Linked DNA regions of Homo sapiens: all the other regions are linked to region 1. Evidence: promoter capture Hi-C in 16 types of primary human blood cells and fetal thymus (Javierre and others, 2016). All regions are on one chromosome and are shown on one strand. Each heading gives the region's core, a stretch centred on a gene start or on the middle of the fragment in contact. The rest is flanking DNA. Distances are from core to core; before and after follow the strand shown. Region 1 holds the start of RPS13 (ribosomal protein S13). Region 2 holds the start of PUS3 (pseudouridine synthase 3). Region 3 has its middle 41 kb from the start of HSD17B12.

The links. The method cuts DNA at HindIII sites, captures the fragments that hold promoters and counts their contacts. A CHiCAGO score of 5 or more calls a contact.
Region 2: the fragment with the promoter of PUS3 here is called in contact with the fragment with the promoter of RPS13 in region 1 in 2 of 17 cell types (total CD4 T cells and total B cells); the score reaches 9.7 in total CD4 T cells.
Region 3: a contact is called between a fragment that was not itself captured here and the fragment with the promoter of RPS13 in region 1, in 8 of 17 cell types (non-activated CD4 T cells, naive B cells, fetal thymus and 5 more). The highest score is 21.3, in non-activated CD4 T cells.

What each region holds. Positions count from the first base shown.
Region 1 is chr11:17,076,096-17,080,242 of GRCh38, forward strand. RPS13 (ribosomal protein S13) reads right to left here and starts at 1,572. Exons shown (of 6, transcript NM_001017.3): 1 at 1,524-1,572; 2 at 1,334-1,382; 3 at 1,073-1,151. The coding sequence starts at 1,546. RefSeq lists an enhancer at 1,606-1,805. The HindIII fragment of the contact is 8,959 bases long and covers 1-2,373 here.
Region 2 is chr11:125,901,536-125,905,682 of GRCh38, forward strand. PUS3 (pseudouridine synthase 3) reads right to left here and starts at 1,671. Exons shown (of 4, transcript NM_031307.4): 1 at 1,635-1,671. It overlaps DDX25 (DEAD-box helicase 25), which reads left to right and starts at 2,973. Exons shown (of 12, transcript NM_013264.5): 1 at 2,973-3,045; 2 at 3,677-3,743; 3 at 4,018-4,062. The coding sequence starts at 2,983. The HindIII fragment of the contact is 3,679 bases long and covers 1-2,383 here.
Region 3 is chr11:43,637,697-43,641,843 of GRCh38, forward strand. It overlaps a transcript of HSD17B12 not described here. Among named protein-coding and RNA genes, the nearest start is that of HSD17B12, 41 kb to the right of the region's middle. The HindIII fragment of the contact is 877 bases long and covers 1,456-2,332 here.

The sequences.
Region 1 (4,147 bases), core at 322-2,821:
TAAGAGGTGGGATCAGGTGGTGTGGCTCACGCCTGTAATCCCAGCACTTTGGGAGGCCGAGGCAGTGGATCATCTGAGGTCAGGAGTCTGAGACCAGCCTGGCCAACATGGTGAAACCTCGTCTCTACTAAAAATACAAAAATTAGCCGGGCGTGGTGGTGCGGCCTGTAGTCTCAGCTACTCCAGAGGCAGAGGCAGGAGAATTGCTTGCTTGAACCCAGGAGGCGGAGGTTGCAGTGAGCCGAGATCATACCACTGCACTCCAGCCTGGGTGACAAAGTGAGAATCGGTCTCAAACAAAAACACACAAATTAGCTGGGCCTGCTGGCGGGCGCCTGTAATCCCACCTATTCGGGAGGCTGAGGCAGGAGAATCGCTTGAATCCAGGAGGTGGAGGTTGCAGTGAGCTGAGATCGCGCCACTGCACTCCAGACTGGGCGACAAGAGCAAGACTGTCTCAAAAAAAAAAAAAAAAAGAGGTGGGGTCTCTCTGTCACCCAGGAGTGCAGTGGCTTCATCATAGCTCACTGCAGCCTGGGACTTCTAGGCTCTGGTGATCCTCTCACCTCTGCATCCCAAGTATCTGGGACTACAGGCACATTGCGGCTGGCTTTTTTGGGCGGGGGAGTCGGAGAGTAGTATGTTCTCAGGCCCCAGAACCATGTTCAGCACATAGAAGGTAAACATTTGCTGAATGAAGCCACTTGCACGAAGTCACACGCAGCTGAGATTCAAACCACACCTAACTGTGAGGAACTGTGTCAGGCACTCTGCTTAGCCAATTCCAACTCCTCCACTTGACAGCTGTGTGATTTGGGGCTGGTTAGTATCCAGCGGCAGTGTGCCTCTGCTTCCTCAACTGTAAACTGGGGTGAAAGCCATGAAGATTTATTTCAAAGTATTGTGGTCAGAATTAAACGAAATCAGTACATGTGAAGTGCTTACAATGATGCCTCTAGCACGGTGGCGAGACCAGAGTTTTGGCTATTTTTAAAATAACTTTACCACCTACTAGATCCTACAAGTCACACGAGGACAGGCGAAATAGGCTATGTTAGACACAAACACTCACCGATCTGTGAAGGAGTAAGGCCCTTCTTGGCCAGTTTGTAAATCTGCTCCTTCACGTCGTCAGATGTCAACTTCAACCACTGTTATGGAATAGAAAGCAGCCTTAGGATGAGAACCCAGGAATGGCGCCGCAGAACAGCGGTCTCTCCTTCCGCAAAACCGCGCTCCTCATACACGCAAGTTCCTCACCCTGGCGTCGCTTCACCCGAGACAAATGCCAACCCCCTCCCCGGATTCTCCCCGGTCCCAGCGCGCTACTTACAGTGGGGACGCTGCGTCGATAGGGTAAAGCCGACTGGGACAGGCCCTTCCTGGGGAGAGAAGCAGTCTCGAGGTGAGGTGGCGGCTAGTGCCAGAGCAGCCCAGAACATCATCCCCTCGGCCCGCTGCCCACACTCCCTGTCTTCCTCCCACCCCCCGCCCAGCAATCCGGCTTGATGCCCCGAGCTCACCCGGGAGCATGCATGCGACCCATGATGGCGGCGATCAGGCAACGAAAGGAGAGCGAGAGTGGAAACGCCGCAGGAAGCCACCCAACACGCAGGAAGTGACCTCACACGTCCCCGCTTCCTCTCACGCAGGAGGCGGAGCTACGCTGCGCAGCCACCGCCCGTCTGTGTGACTACATCTCCCGAAATGCATTTCAGCGTCGCAAGAGATCGTCAATCCAGCCTCATCCCGGCATGCATCGGTCTTTGGTCAGCCTTGTTGCCAGAGCGGGAATTTGAGGCTGACGCCAGCTTGCGTCGAAATTCCCTGTGGACGCCGAGATCACAAAGATTCGAATGCTGCGCTGGGGGTGGGTATGGAGCAGGTAGGGCTGGAAGAAGCAGCCATACACAGGTGTTTGCTCATTCACCAGTGCCTGGCTTTGTCCTGGCACTAGATCCCTCAGAGTCGGCCCTGCGCCTAATAAATTAACAGATACAATAGCATGTGATGAGGACCACACGGGAAGCCATGGCAGCGGCTACCGCCCAGCCAGCGCTTCCATTTCTCATTTCTAAATCCTACCCTAATCTGTCAGGGGAGAGTCGCTGACGGTGAAGAACCGGTCTAAGGAGTTGAACCAGGTCCCCACGGATGCCTGCCGCCCTCCGCACTCGAATTCCCCTGCGCAGGGCTCTGGGGCGCTGGGCTCGCCGGGGAGAAGGGTTGGGCAGAGGCTTACGGAGCTATGTTCCCAAGTGAGAGAGTTGGCGGGCAGGGAAGAGCCTTGGGAGCAAGACTGCAAAGGCCAAGAGGATGAGGGATAAAATGAAGCATTTGAATTTCATGGGAAAAGGGAACCGTCAAGGAAGAAGCTTTTTTTTTTTTTTGAGACGGAGTTTCGCTCTTGATTCGCAGGCTGGAGTGCAATGGCGCGATCTCGGCTTGCCGCACCCTCCGCCTCCCGGCTTCAAGCGATTCTCCTGCCTCAGCCTCCTGAATAGCTGGGATCACAGGCATGCGCCACCACTTCCAGCTAATTTTGTATTTTTAGTAGAGACGGGTTTTTCCATGTTGGTCAGGCTGGTCTTAAATTCCCGACCTCAGGTGATCCGCCCGCCTCGGCCTCCCAAAGTGCTGGGATTACAGGCGTGAGCCACCGCGCCTGGCCGGAAGAAGCTCTTTTAAGACAGACCTAGCCTGGGCAACATGGCGAAACCCCCTCTCTATAAATACAAAGAATTAGCCGGGCGTGCTCGCTCGTGCCTTTGGTTCCAGCTACGAAGGAGGCTGAGGTGGAGAATCTCTGGAGCCGGGAAGGACATTGCGGTGAGCCGAGATAGCACCACTGCGCGCCAGCCTGGGCAACAGAGCAAGACTCTGTCTTAAAAAAAAAAAAAAAAAAGGAAAGAAAGAAAAAGACTGACTCAGTGCCGGTACACAACAATGCGTTGAAAGAATGGGCAAATGAAGCAGCTTCTTAAAATTTTAAAAAGTAAGCATAGCTCTAGGAAGGAGGGAGGTCAGTGAAATCAAACTCCTGTCGACAAGCTTAAAGTAACTGGCAAGACGCTGGGAAACTAGATACTGAAACATCCGCTCTTAACTTTTAACCTGTCACTATTTGAAATAAAGTTATCAGGGATAGCCGGGCGCGGTGGCTCACGCCTGTAATCCCAGCACTTTGGGAGGCTGAGGCGGGCGGATCACGAGATCAAGAGATCGAGACCATCCTGGCTAACACGGTGAAACCCCGTCTCTACTAAAAATACAAAAAAATTAGACGGGCGTGGTGGCGGGCGCCTGTAGTCCCAGCTACTCAGGAGGCTGAGGCAGGAGAATGGCGTGAACCCGGGAGGCGGAGCTTGCAGTAAGCCACGATCGCACCACTGCACTCCAGCCTAGGTGGCAGAGCGAGACTCCGTCTCAAAAAAAAAGTATCAGGGATAAAGAGAGAACCCTTTATAACAACAAACGGGTCAGTTCTCCAAGAAAACAACACCCCTCCCCCCCAAAAAAGCCATAATCTGTCACTATTTGATTAATAACTTTTCCCAAAGCATTAGGAATTTTAGTCAAATCGGGTACCCTATTTGGGTAATGTTTTTTTCTAGCAAAGTTTATCATTAGCCAATTTTACATTTTTAGTTCAGATATGGAATAGGTATCTCAAATTTAATATGACTCCAATTCCCAAACCATGCCCCTTTGTTTCAGTTAAACACGATCCTGTTTGCTCAAACTTAATACAAACCTAGGCATCTCCGTTTTTCTCTGATTTCCCTCTGTCATCCCAGCTCTACCACAAGAATGTATCATGAATATGTTCCCTTTGCCCCATTTCCACCTTCAGTCCCAGCCACCATCACCTCCTATCTGGGCAACTCTGTAGTATCCACACCGTCTGGTCACGTCCCCACTCTAAACACAACCCACTCTCCACCTAGCAGTCAGAGTGATCCATTAAATACATAAAGCAGATTAATTCATTGCTCCCCTGTGTAAATCCCTCCCATACTTTCTCAATGCACCTAAGATCCAATCCCTGGACCCACGTCTTGCCACTATCCCCCGATTCTAAACGCTCTAACCGCACTTACTCCTTTCTGACTCTACAAGGTAGCAATGTGTTCCTTTCCTGCTTAGA
Region 2 (4,147 bases), core at 421-2,920, about 110 Mb after region 1:
GTTCACAGAGAAAAAGTTCTAACATAAAGGTGAATGACCTTGACCGTTACTATCTGCGAAAATCATTTTCCCTGTAACATTTAAAGCCACATAATTCACACATTCACCCAGTTCTATTTGTTAGGCATTTGTCTGGAAAAGAAGTAATCAATGACTCAGGTACATGTAGGATATACTCACCGCAAAAAAGTAGAAACTGCAAACTGTCCACCAACAGTGGAATAGTAAATGTCTTTAAAGACATTAGAATATTAAATAGTCATTGGGAATCTTGGGAAAGTAATATGGGAAGGTGAAATTAAGTGACATGAATGTATCATAAACTATACAGGATGATCTCAGTACACACAGGGAAAGATCAAAACCTAACGAGTAGTGGGATTAAAGGTAATTTGTATTTATACCTCGACTTTTTATGAGGTCAAAAATTACATGGTGATTTTAACATGCAAAACACTCCAGTGATTATTTGGATCTCAAAGTCCAACATTACCAAAGTCTCCAAAGTTCAACTCCCGTGCTAACTAAAGAACTAGGCCAGGGAGTGAGTCTAGTTGGTCATAAGGCAGATTTGTGGCAAAAACAGGACTTGGTACACTACAGTGCTTTTTCCAGCACACCTTACCCTAATTCAGGGTGAAGTGCAGGAGTTCCCAAGCAGACGTTTAAAGTAACACCCTGGCCAGGGCTGCGAAGTAACCACAGAGAGGGAATTCGTGTGTCCCCTAAGCACCAATTACAAACTAAAACGGCCATCACCAGATGTTCCATACATTGGGCCAGGCGCCGTGGCTCACGCCTGTCATCCCAACATTTTGAGAGGCCAAGACGGGGTGGTGGCGGGGGGGAGGGGGGGTCGCTCGAAGTCAGGAGTTCGAGACCAACCTGGGCAACACAGCGAGACCGTGTGTTAATTAAAAAATTAAAAACTAGGCTGCCAAGATGGCGCACGCCTGCAGTCCCAGCTAGTTGGAGGCTGAGGTGGAAGGATCGCTTGAGCCCAGGAGGTAGAGGCTGCAGTGAGCAGTGATCACGCCACTTCACTCAGCCTGGGCGACAGTCTTAAAAAAAAAAAAAAAAAAGTCCTAATCTCAGGAACCAGTGGGTTAACACATAAATAGCATTCCTCTTGATAAACTTTATATTAATCCAAAGGGAAGAAGAGGGAGTACTGTCCAAAGGATTAGCAGACACGCACTATGATCACTAGAAAGCAATCGTGGTCTGTATGTAAGGCAATCCCCAAAATAATTTGAAAATTGCTGCCACAGCCTCCCACATACTCCTGGGTTCTCAACTTCTACTGTTTTATGAGCACCCAATTCTAAGTGGGGCAGCAGAGCACTTTTGTACTCCACAGTACAAGTACCACTGAAGCTCCCGTCACAACGGAATTAAAGACGACCCTACTGCGGCGAGTTTCCACCGAGAGCTCCAGAAAGTACCAGGCACAAAAGAAAAATACATGGTCTTAAGCGAGGTCTCATTTCCATACGGCAATGCTTTCCTGAAAAGACCAAAGTATGTGAAAGAGGGCAAAAAGAAGACAACAGACAACCGTTCAGCAGTGTGTCCATTTGTCCCTTCCCCTGTGGAACCCAGAAAGTAACCCACTCCAAAAATCCCACACTTACTTTCCGGCAGCCGGCCGCGCCGCGTTTCCGAGAAAGGAAGCTGTCACTGTGCGTCTTCTGCGCAGGCGCCCGAGCCCTCATGGGAGGTGTAGTCCAAGTTTGTGGGAAATGTAGTTCTGAGAACCGAGCTTGGTGCTAGAATCTACCTGAGGTTTTCTAGTCCAGCTACCGTTTCTCCGCCCACAGGGCAGAATCTGGGCCTGTGGCGGGACAGCAATAAAAGGAGGAATTGTAGTGCTACGCTAAAATAATAGAAAAAAGGTAATTTTTCAAATTCTGCTATCCTTATACGAAAACTAAAAGATTGAAGATCTTGGCTCGATTTTATACCTAGTTAAATGAGAAGAAAGTTACCATTGAGAGACAAAAACATTTACTATTAGAATTCAAATTAAAAGCTGAAATGAATATGATAATCTCAAAACAAACGACTAGGTGCCCTGAGAGTGACCGAACAGAGCGGGGAGCGTTGCTTCAGCACCACGGAGAGATCATGACTGCAGTTTCGTGTGGGTTTTTGTATTTTTGCCCCCAATTCCAGAAATGCTGATCAAAATCTCAAAATTACAATTAGAAAACTGGGGGGCGGGGGGGAGGTGGAATTTGGTTCTTTCGTCCAAATTGAGCGGTCATTAAATCATTAGTACCAGGGATCCAGGGATCTATACCGGATTATGCAAACGCATGTAGGACGTAGAGGTTATACCGAAAGGTAATGTTTTTAACAAGAGACCACATTTCAGAATAAAAGCTTTAAAAAGCCTATGTGGAACATCACAGGTATCTAGGGCAGGAACAGCAGTTAGAGCTTGAACAGTTCTGCTTCCTTTCCGCAACTGTGGCATTCGAGGTCATTCGTCATATCAAATTCATCAGATTTTGTCTCCACTTTGCTAACCAATTCGCTAACCTTTCTGACATCTTGTGATGTGGAGGCGGAAATTTCCAGGGAAACCGACACGGGGCGTAAAGCGCGGCGGGGAGTCCGGGGGGCTCCCGCCTGGAGGGCTGTGTGAGCGGCGGGCCGCGGGGCGGCGCGGGGGGCGCTCTCCACTCTGCGGAAGCTGCCCCCTCTGCCCTCCGGTCCGCGCCCTTTCGCCCCGCTCTCTGCCCTCCGCCCCGCTCTCTGCCCTCCGCCCCGCTCTCTGCCCCCCGCCCCGCTCTCTGCCCTCCGCCCCTTCCGCGCGCCACCCAGCCTTCCAGCGCCTGCGCGCCGCACCGCGGTGGTCGCGGGCGCGGACGCGGACGCCTGCCCCCTAAGGAAGCCCATTGGCCAGCGGATGGGGCCAGCACCGCCTCGCGCCGGTGGTGGAAGCACGTGCTGGGGGCGGGAGCAGCAATCGCAGCCATGGCGTCGTTACTGTGGGGAGGCGACGCAGGGGCGGCGGAGAGCGAGCGGCTGAACAGCCACGTAACCGCCACCGAGCCGGGGGGCCACAGCCGCGGGGGTGGAGCTCCCACTCGCAGAGGGAGATCGGCTGGGAGGGGAGGGAGAGCCCGCGAGCGTTCGAAGTGGGGCGTCAGATGCTGGAGGGGAGATGCGGGAAGGGTTTGGAAGAGGGCCACAGAGGGAGACCCCGTCCCCACCCCCACGAGAGGCAAGACCTTTGGTTAGAAAGGGCAAAAATGACGACCCCTGGAAATCCAGGGTGGGAACGCAGCTGGTAGTCCCAGCTAGACCCCGAGTTTTCTACTCTGCCCATTTGCCCATTAAGCCTCACCTCGCTTCCATCCATTTGCCAGCGCACTTTCCTAGCCACCCTCCCCTTGTTGGTGCCGTGAGCCCCAAGTACTGCCCAACTCTAAACTAGAGGCCTAGGAAAGAGAAACTGCATGTACAGGGAATACAGAAAATCTCCAATTTTAGGGTAACTCATACAGGAAACCCAACCTTGAAAGGAATCTGCTGCTACCTAATATTGCAAAGGAAGCAATACCCGGGTGTCCTTCCCTGAATCCCTCCCAGCCCCTGTGGTAGGGAAGCACTGGGCTGCTTGAGGGCTTGCATCCTAATATTGGTTGAAATTTGTGTCTCTCAATAGTTTTCAAACCTCAGCCAACCCCGGAAGAACCTTTGGGGTATTAAGAGTACTGCAGTCCGAAACATAGGTGAGTGCTGTTAGGGCAAAGCAGAGCGACCTCAATGATTAAAAAGTATTGTTTTGCTTTCATCACGTCCCTGCCAAGTGAAACACCGCGGATTCATTAGTGTGACATTCAGCACTCTCCATTACCTTCCCAATCGTTTCGTCCATTCCTCCATGAAATGACTCTTCTTGCCAGTAGACACTGAAGAGTCAGGAAGAAAAAATTGAATAGCATGCTTTACATTTGTGCTCAGCATTTGTCTTTACTTGTATTGTTTCTCTTCCATCCTTTCCAGATGGTTCTATTAATAACATCAATGAAGATGATGAAGAAGATGTAGGTAGGAGATGAATTCATTTGCATGTATCTACTAGCATTCTGTTTCCGTTTATAACTTTAATAGTGTGAGTGAATAATATAATCTC
Region 3 (4,147 bases), core at 644-3,143, about 27 Mb after region 1:
AGGAGACTGTTCGTTCAGAAAAATGTGTGTTAATTTGTAATTCAGCAACAAGTTCATAGAAACACAGTGTCCATGAGCTAGGAAGGTGCATGTATTTTTCAGGCTGTTTTTAAAGCTATGAAATTTCAATAATGTGTAAGAGAAAAAGTGATATGTAAATACCATTGTGGATGGGGAGGGGTTATATTTAGGTGGTTAACATTAGGCAAGCCAGTGAGTAATAATTAGCAAATTATTACCATGGCCCTCTGTGCACTTGAAGGCTCTCTGGTGGAGTCAAGGGTAGATCTGCCTCTGTGGCATTTGTCAGAATGCAGATTTTCAGTGAGGGCTTTGTTAAATAAACCATCAGTGTCTGGGAGGGGGAGGGAAAGCAGACTGAGAGAGGCAGCAGTAACACATATAGAAATGAAGTCCAAATTCGGGTGCTTATATGGCGATATTCCAGTTTCTCTGGATCATCATAGACACATATAGAATGTTCGTGCTAAATGGGACCTTGGAGATTGTCTGGTACAACCCCCTCATTTTACATTTTACTTTTCTATGAGAATAGAGTTTGGTGAAATCTGGCCAGGATTTCAGTACAGTGAAATCAGGGAAGTTTGTGGTGTGTTTAAAGAGAGATTTCATGTTAGGATGAAGGGAAAGCGGACATTCCTTCAGTTTTAGAGTGATGTCCAGGTAGGAAAGTAGAGTGGGTAAGGCAGTGAATTTTCCCAAATTAATTAAAAGAGGAAGGGAAAGAGGCAGAAAGGGCAAAGAGATAATCTAATTTTATGCTAAACAGTTTTTGAATGGATTTGTAGCTAATGTTTAAAAGTTGATGAAAAAGAAAACTCTTATTTTATTATTTCTAGGAACTTGGTTTTCTTAAACGGAAAGGGAAGTTTGGGGGAGAGCTTGGCAGCATTGATGGTTCCAGCAAAGGAAGGATCTATTTGCATCTAGTGTTGAACCTAGTAAGCAGTTTATGTTAATCCCTTACTCTTTTAAGATTAATATATCGTGGTGTTTTAAATAATTACTTATAAATAAGTTTATGCCTAATGCTTTCTTTTAAATAACAGTGTGTCTCAATAGGACTAATGAGTCAGATTAATTTGGCATGGAGTTCTGAGCAGGGAAGGGGACTGAAGTCCTCTTTCAGAACACTAAAAATGCTTTGCTACATTCCTTGACAGTTTCCCGAGACAGGGTTGGGTTGGAGGGAGTCTTCCCGAAGATTTAAGGGCTCCCCACTGTGCTAGCTCCCCAGTTCCAATAGTGTCGGGTCTGAATAAGGACACTTGTGAAAGTCCACATCTCTAGTGTGTCTGTTTACCTGGAGAAAAATAAGCCAACAGCCCTGAGGGTGAATCAAAGATAAGATTTTTATGGCTCTGTACCCACTTGTGTTTTATTTTTTATAAAAAGCATTATTTACCTACCACATCTTTAAGTACTTCAGAAAGAAGCTTTGAGTTTGTCATTGTTTTTAATTTAAAAAGGAAAACATTGCACTTTTTTCTCATCTGCACTTTTGTAAGGTGTGGAGATATTAGAGGCTCTCCATATTGGACGCTTCAACCTTGCCTAACAGCACAGCCCGCCCACCTTGCTGGGAGAAAGGCTTCAGGAAAACGAGTAGAGCTGAGGGCTGAATACTATCTTAGTTTAGGTCTTTCTTCTTTTTGCCTTTTGGTTCTGCTTCCCTTGGCTGCTCCCACTTCAGTATCTGCTTGTTGTGCTGGGTAATGGAATCAAGTTAGAGATGAAGAAACTGAGGCACAGCCTAGTTACAATCCCTCATTTTGACAAGGCAAAATGAGAGGGAGCACTCAAGCCTTTAGTCTGGGTGGAGACAGTAGGTCCTGTTGCTTCTGCCCTAGAAATTGCTTGGGCTTGTGAGTTGACATCTCTTCTATCCATAGAAGGAACCTCTGCTTAGTACTTGCAAACTTGTACCACAAAAGTCACATCCTTCAGGGGAAAAAAAAGAGAAAAAGAAAAAAAAACTAGCTTAGGAAACCAAAGGTTGCCAAGAATGGCATAAGGGAAAGCAATTTTTTAGTGTCTGTGCGTAGGAATTTTATACGTTCTATGTTGCTGTGAAGCACCAGGGTCAGTTCTGAGCAAGATACTTTTCGTGAAATGAGGGGTGGTGTCTGCGGTTGGCATTCTTTCTTGTGGTTCTCACTCAGCTGTGCTCTCCAACTTTATTCACCTGTATGAGAACCCTAAGCGGGATGCCCTGGTGAAGAACAAGAAATTGCCAGGGTCTGGCAAATTGCAAGTCCACAAGTACCTAGTAGGGAGTGAAAATTGGTTATGTTTGGAGTATGGAGAGATAAGCTTAACTAAACTGTGAGTAAACATGAAAACAAAAATAAAATCAGAATATGCCCGCAAATGCTGGGGAGAAGAATGTTAGGCATTTTATTGGTCTGTTAAAAAAAAAAGTGGGGAATGGTGGATTCATAGAAGAAATAATTAGAAAACTGGTGTAGGAAAAACACTGTGGGGAGGGGGGAAAGCAGCACAATTAATTCTCATTCCCCCCCTCTAAAGTTTGAAGTAGTAGATCCTTATGGGGAATGAAGGGAATATGTAAGAAATCGTAAAATTTTCTAAGCAGAAAATAATTTTTCTTTGGAGAGGAGGCATGTGAGTTCATGAATGTAAACCTGCATTAAAAAGGAGAGACAATTGTGGGCAGAAAGAGGGAGAAGGAGAAGCAGTATAATCGTTTTTAAAAATTCAGCCTAAATTGAGTATTCAGCATTTCCATCTTAGAGTATGTAGGGTTTTAAATATCTCTGTTCGAGAAAATTGATTTGAAGATAGAAAGGCCTTTCGAAACTTAGAAATTCTAGGGTTTAGGTTTTTTTCTTTCATATGTTTATTTGAAGCTTAGACTATAGAAACTATATATAAAATAAGAATTGTTACGTATTAGGAAATTTTTAAAATAGATAAGGCTAGTTAATTATTTAAATATATTGAAAGTATTAAAACTATTGAGTCATAAATAAGACCCCCAAAATATGTCAGTGGCAGGGTAAAATGCAGAAAAACTAAGTATATCAGAAACTACTATCTGTGATAAAATTCAAAATGGGGTTTTTAATTGCAGCATTAATTTAATTTAATTATATTTCAGACTTGCTACATAAAATTAGGACTCAAAAATACAAATATCTATATGTCCATCATGATTTTTTACAGAACAGAAGTAATCATAATCATTTACTTGTTTTTTTTTTATTTCTATAGGAAAATAGCAAAAATTTCATCTCCTGAAGAAATTTGAAGATTTTTTTGGATATTCTTTTAAAGGTGAAACTTTTCTTCTTTAGGTAAGGAAACGTTTTCTATTGTTTATCCATGGGTTGAAAAGAGCATTTCAATTAGACGAAAGAAGTATCATGTACTAAAACTTTGCTTATCTTAACTGATGTAAAACATCATGAAGATGATAGAAAGCAGGATTTTTAATTTAAATAAAGCAAAAGTAGTTAGAAATTTTTCATTTAAAAAAGATTAATTTGTTGGGGAAAAAATGAGATAGACCCCTTTTTTTTTGCACTTTCTCATAGCCTGAATAAGAGGATTCCCATGATCCATCTTTTAAAAATATTTAAGACATAACCAAATTAAAATAAAAGTTATGATTCTGGCACAGAGTTTTAAAAAATATTTAGCAAAATCAAAAACAAGAGAATTTTCAGACATCTAAAATATTCCTAAACACAGATGTAAACTAATGTGATAAACTATTTTGATAAATTTGAAAGACTGGTCATTGTTTTAAAAGCAGGCCCGTGAATTAAAGTTAATTAAGATTTGTGCAGTAACAGGCAAACTTAAACTTTGGTATATACTCACATGCTGGGAAAATATTTTTTTGTAGGGTCAGAATGTAAATATAAATAATTTGTTTAATCAGGCAAGAACCTGTACTTTGTGTGTGAACTCTTTTCAGTGTTTGGTAATTGTGTTACGTTGATAACATAAGAAAAGGAGACAGACTAACTTTTTAAGCATATTAGAATATTTGCAACTCATTCTATTTTTGGCAATAATTCTATTAGTGCAGTTTACTTCCATGAACAGTATAAAATACATACATGAAAATCAGATTTTTAAAAGCAGATTACAAGTGCAA